Regions from separate parts of the Homo sapiens genome. Here region 1 is linked to region 2. Evidence: promoter capture Hi-C in human tissues and cell types (Jung and others, 2019). All regions are on one chromosome and are shown on one strand. The core of a region is centred on a gene start or on the middle of the fragment in contact, and the rest is flanking DNA. Distances in the headings are between cores, read along the strand shown. Region 1 overlaps OTUD7B (OTU deubiquitinase 7B). Region 2 holds the start of OTUD7B (OTU deubiquitinase 7B).

Region 1 (3,037 bases), core at 43-2,542, 34 kb before region 2:
TAAACTGTTTATTCTGCATAAACACTCTCTTCTACATCCCTTTGTCTTGCTGCTCCTACTTGTCCTTCAGGGCTCAGCTTAAAAATCACTCCTCGGAAAAGGCCTTCCTGCACTCTAGATCTAAGTTAGGGTTCTTTCTTCACTCTCACAGCACCCTCAATGTTTCTTTCACAGCATGAGTGTATGTGTGTGTGCACACATGTGAGCATGCTAGCAATAATTTGTAACATAATTGCTTACAGCCATACTCTGAAACCAGATTGCCTAGATTCAAATCCTACTTAAACCTCACTGAGCCTCAGGTTTTAAAATTATTAACTCCAGGATAATAAAACTTTATTGTATGGTGGTTGTGAGAATAAAATAACATATCTCAAGTACGTTGCACATATTGAACACTCATAAGTGTTCAACACATGTTATAAGAGGAATGCAGAAAGGTTAAGGATTTTATGAAAGAGGAAACATTTGAGCTGAATCTTGAAGGATGAGGAGAATAGAGGAAAGAAATGCTCCAGACTGAGGAAGTAACCTAACATGATCACCAAGAGGTGACAAGTCAGGCCTGGCTGCATAGGAAGTATAGGGAAAAGTAGTAGGAGAAGAAACTAAAAATGCAAATTAGGCTGGGCAGGGTGGCTCATGCCTGCCAGCACTTTGGGAGGCTGAGGTGGGTAGATCACGAGTCAGGAGTTTGAAACCAGCCTGGCCAGCATTGTGAAACCCCATCTCTACTAAAAATACACAAATTAGCCGGGCATGGTGGCGCGCGTCTGTAGTCCCAGCTACTGGGGAGGCTGAGGCAGGAGAAACGCTTGAATCTGGGAGGCGGAGGTTGTGGTGAGCCAACATCGCGCCACTGCACTCCAGCCTGGGCGACAGAGTGAGACTCTGTCTCAAAAAGAAAAAAAAAGAAATGCAAATTAAGGACAAAGTTGTACTAAATTACTAAACTGGAATTTAAACCCTGATCTTCTGTTTCCAAACTCATGCTCTCCTCACGGGTAGCCAAGCAAATGTCTAATTGTCACACCTTGCTAAGGGCTGGCAATTTAAAATATTACCTATGTATGCTAAGAACTTGCCCCTTCCCCATAGGCCTGCCTGTTTGTGTCATTACATATTTTCATCTATTATTTGTGACTCTAAACAGAATCCTAGGGACATGATTCTAACCCTTCAGGACCTTAAAATCTAGAACATTCAGCCAGGCATGGTGGCTCATGCCTGAAATCCCAGCACTTTGGGAGAGGCCGAGGCAGGCGGATCACCTGAGGTCGGGAGTTCGAGACCAGCCTGACCAAAATGGAGAAACCCCATCTCTACTAAAAATACAAAATTAGCTGAGTGTGGTGGTGCATGCCTGTAATCCCAGCTACTCCGGAGGCTGAGGCAGGAGAATTGCATGAACCCGGGAGGAGGAGGTTGCAGTGACCCGAGATCGCACCATTGCACTCTAGCCTGGGCAACAACAGCAAAACTCCGTCTACAAAAAAAAAAAAAAAAAAATACTAGAACATTCAAACTTATGTGTATAAAGATATAAGTAAACAAAAGCAGCAAAATGAAAACATTAAATTGATTCACTCAACATAGAATTACCCATAATGTATGTTATGTAAGGAAAGAACAAAACCATGGATGATCCCATCATGAAAACCCTAAAGTCACTTCTATATAAAGAGGAAGTCTTACAGATCTAAAATTATGCTTTTAGGCCGGGCACAGTGGCTCATGCCTGTAATCCCAGCACTTTGGGAGGCCGAGGCAGGCAGATTACCTGAGGTAAGGAGTTCAAGACCAGCCTGGCCAACAGGTGAAACTTAATCTCTACTAAAAAATACAAAAATTAGCCAGGTGTGGTGGCAGGCACCTGTAATCCCAGCTACTCAGGAGTCTGAGGCAGGAGAATTGACTGGACCTGGGAGGCAGAGACTGCAGTGAGCCAAGATCATGCCACTGCTCTCCAGCCTGGGCAACAGAGCGAGACTCTGTCTCAAAAATAAATAAATAAAATAAAATAAAATAAAATTATGTTTGTAATGGACTAATATAAAATTTCACTTGCATTGCCTGAGCATAAACTGACAATGGAGAAAACTACCCCAGTAAGTTCAAGGTGAAAAAGGGATTTTAAAATTTCTAATTATGACGGGTTATACACAAAGTATATCATTAGAATTAACTATAGGGCCTAACCTACACAAAGTATCTTCCTGATCACCTTAAATGGTCCAAATCATCCTAATGATAAATACCACATTTTACTTTCTCTTTTCTCATTCTCCCCTACAACTCCTCACCTTCTAGGAGATCTCGCGCTAGCCCTGGCTCTGCTCCTGTGGAACGGACAAAATCTGACAGAACAGCATCCATGTCCAGGGTCATGTGATCCTCAAGTACTTTCAGCCAGCTGGATGTAGGTAGAACATAGATCAAAATTCAGGCCTCCACCTGAGGAATAAATAAATACATAAGGCTCAAATTACACTGGAACAGGATAATCACAGTCCCATGTCAGCAGCTTCCTAACCAAATGGGGAAACTATCCTAGCTCATTCATTTCAGTTGAATTTTAAAATACAGCACTTTAAAATTATGAAGAGTAACATTTTATTTCCTAACTCTTCATTAACATCTCAACATCTACATTAACCAGGAACCTGTAATACCACTCTGAAAAATGCTTTTCCTGTACTTTTCCTGAGTACTGCTTTTCTACCATGAGTTTGCTTACCCAAACTAAAGAAGGAAGCAACAGGCTACCACCCTAAAGAACTCCCCACCTGCAATAGTCTCTAACATGGCACCTTTGTGTATTTCCTTACTGGCACTTGAATACTCTCAAATTATTTTAATTAGTTGCTGTCTAGCCATCTCCTCTAATATATGTTTCTTGAAAGCAGGAAACTTGTATGTCTCCTTCACTAATGTATCCCCTGCACGTATCACTTGGCACAGTGCTAGGCACACTGGCCCTCAATAAATATTTGTTGAGTGAATGAACAATTACTATACACTGGATAATTTCAGAGTT
Region 2 (3,045 bases), core at 78-2,577:
CCTCCTCAAAAATCTCCTAAATATACAGTACTAGAGGCCAAAGACTGAAAAATTAGCAGCATGTGAATTTCTAAGCAAAGCGTTACGTAGTACGTATAAAAAGATAAGGAAAATAAAAGTCAACGTCCTGCTAATTCTAGGCTTTGCATTCGTGAAAAGCTGCCTGAAAAGTTTGTGGGGAACTTCTTCCATAAAATTCCACCAGTCAGTTTCTAATTTCAAATTTTTACATCTTTATTGTGCCCAGAGAAGCCACCTAGGTTAGACAAGAAAGACTACCACGAGCGGGGAGAAAGAGACTCTGAGCGCTGGTCCTTGTGAGCCGACAAGCTAAAAATACGCCGGCCCAGTAAACAAATCCCATTCCATCCCGACCGGAGCCACACCGTTAACCTAGTAATTATGAGAAGAGTGAGATCACGCAGCCCCCGGCTTACTCATCATCAGCTTCTAAAGTTTCCATCGGCTCATGGCAACTTTTCTTTTTTCTAAAGTTCTTAAGACTGCCCTAGAATCCGTCAACCTCCGTCTCTCTCCCTCTCTCACACACACACACAAACACACACACACACCTTTTTCTCGCCTTTCCTCCATTACTGTATGCACCTTAGTTTGGCTATCAATAGGAAGAATAAGCTTATTTGCTTTTCATTTTAGTATTATATTGAGATTTTAAATGAACTTTATCCTACTGTGGGGATAATACACTGCATCTTAATCACCTTAAAACTCCACCATCCCTCCCGAAAGTCTAGCTGACAAGGGGGGACCGTCCAAACTGGCCAGCACAGCTCAGGAAGGGAGGCCGGGAGCTGGAGAGCGCGGGGTAGGAACGCAGGACGCAGGTGAAAGGGAGGAGGAAAGATCGGGACGAAGCAAGGAGCAGTCAGGGCGAGAAAGGAGTGCCGAGGGGAGATGGCTTCGGGTGAAACAGATTCAGAAAGGAGAAAGGGGACAGTGGCGATCTGAGGAGCAGAGTTTGCGAGTCTGAGAAGCCGGGAGGGGCGGGAGCAGACGGGGGACGGTGTCAGGACGGGGGGCTCCGTTACCCTCGCGGGCTCCCGGGGCAAGGCCCTAGGCCGGGGCGGAGCGCGGGGCCCGGCCGCCTCTCTTCATTCCTCGGCAGTGACCCCGGGGTCCGGCCGGCCCCTCCCCCGACGGCGATGGAGGTGGAGGCGGTGGTGGAGACTGCGACCGCAGCTGTTGCTCCGCACGGGATCTGGAGCTGGAGCCAGAAAGGACTGATCGGGACTGGCCTCCCCCAGTGGCTTTTTGCCCACTCCGCACCCGGTCGCCACTCCGGCTCCGGCGGCTGGTTCAGGATCGGTGGCTTTCTGCTGTCCGGCCGGAAACAGGCGCCAGTTTCCGGCCGGAGCGGGTTGGTGGTGACACCCAGGCCGCCCCCGGGCCTCCTCCCGCTCCGCCCCGTCGCAGCCCCGCCTTTAGCGCCGCTCCCCAGGCTGCGGCCAGTTTGGCGCTTGCCCCGCGCGTGACCCCGTGTTTTCCCGACCCGAGTCCCTAAAGCTCCTGGTCTGGAGCATTCTTGAACAGGAGTTGGAGGAGTACAGGGTGGACTCTTAGGACTCTGGGGTAGAATCAGTTGGCTACAGCCGTTGGGAAGGAGCTGAAAGGGGTGGAGTAGTTGTAGAAAGGTGAGAGAGATGAAAATACTTCAGAATGAAAAGACTGACATTCTAGTAACTCTACACAATCATTCTGGAGTGACCGGAGGAAGATTAGCTTCTTCCACACCAGTCTCCACCCAATTATATATTTCTCTTGTTCCTTCACTCTTGAAGTGAACATATCCTTCTCTGTAAACACTTAATATTTATTTACTTGCATAACAGTGATACCCTGTTGATACATCTGCTTTAGACTGCTAACAGTAAAAAAAACTTACATAGTGCGTTTGTTATGTCTTCTAGTGCGTTTGTTATGTCTTTTAAAACATTATGGCATAATTCAAATATGTATTGTATCCCTGTGATGTGTATCACTGCTCTCAGTGATACAGGGGGATACAAAAATTAACAAGACATAATCCCAGACATCAAAGGTTTTACAATTTAGTAAAATACATAAAACTATATTATATGTAGCAGAACTTGTATGTGTCCTACCTGAGTGACAATGAGCTATGGCTATGAGAACATAATAAGCCATCCTTGTCACATAGTAGACCTTCCATATTTGTTGAATGAATGAATAAGTATTAGGCCTGTGTGGACTGTTTCAAGAAAGAAAGGCCATTTAGTAAATACCTCTTTATGACAAACACAAAACGATGCCAACCCCGGCTATACTCTAACAAAAGACATTTGAAATTTTAATTCAGATTCCTAACATTATAGCACCTGGTCTGCATATTCAAAATAATGTATTGCCTAATTGTGCCCATTATGCCTATGTAAAAACAAATACTCTAGTCAACTTTTCTTTCCCCTCACTTCTTCCTCAGTTTCTAAAGGGGAGGCGTGGGGCATAGGCATTTTAGAATTGTCTAGCTCAGAATAGGAAACTGACACCTGAAACAGGGAAACTTCCTAGACAGCTATATCTCTTAGGGATACACCTGGGTTTACAATCGAAAATTTAGGGCTGGGCCCAAGGCTGTCCACACATGCTAAGGCCAAACAAGTCAGAGTGCCTTGCATGGGGGCATATCCAAGACATACAATAGAGGTTGACAAGTAAAGTCATTTGGCGTGGGCTTCAAGCGTATAAGGGACCACAAATTTTAGCTACCGTTTAGTGGTAAATTTAAGGAGGAGAGCAGGATGAGATTTGGTCACCTAAATTGACTCTAACTGAACTCTAACTGAACTGAACTGGAAGGGTACGGGGGTGGACGCTTGGGACTCTGGGGTAGAATCAGTTGGCTACAGCCGTTGGAAAGGAGCTGAAAAGGGTGTCGTTCTAGAAAGGTGAGAGGGATGAAAATACTTTAGAATGAAAAGACTGAAATTCTAGTAACTCTACACAAACATTCTGGAATGATTGTGACAACAATCACTGACCACACCTACCCTTTGCTAGTTAAAT

What was found. The method cuts DNA at HindIII sites, captures the fragments that hold promoters and counts their contacts. A contact is called where the count stands out against the background at its distance.
Region 1: a contact is called between a fragment that was not itself captured here and the fragment with the promoter of OTUD7B in region 2, in 2 of the 25 tissues and cell types used here (IMR-90 fibroblasts and liver).

What each region holds. Positions count from the first base shown.
Region 1 is chr1:149,975,123-149,978,159 of GRCh38, forward strand. It overlaps OTUD7B (OTU deubiquitinase 7B), which reads right to left. Exons shown (of 12, transcript NM_020205.4): 2 at 2,304-2,454. The coding sequence starts at 2,388. Among named protein-coding and RNA genes, the nearest start is that of OTUD7B, 34 kb to the right of the region's middle. The HindIII fragment of the contact is 6,801 bases long and covers 1-3,037 here.
Region 2 is chr1:150,009,399-150,012,443 of GRCh38, forward strand. OTUD7B (OTU deubiquitinase 7B) reads right to left here and starts at 1,328. Exons shown (of 12, transcript NM_020205.4): 1 at 1,050-1,328. RefSeq lists enhancers at 73-955, 320-369 and silencers at 890-1,179, 1,440-1,489. The HindIII fragment of the contact is 20,587 bases long and covers 1-3,045 here.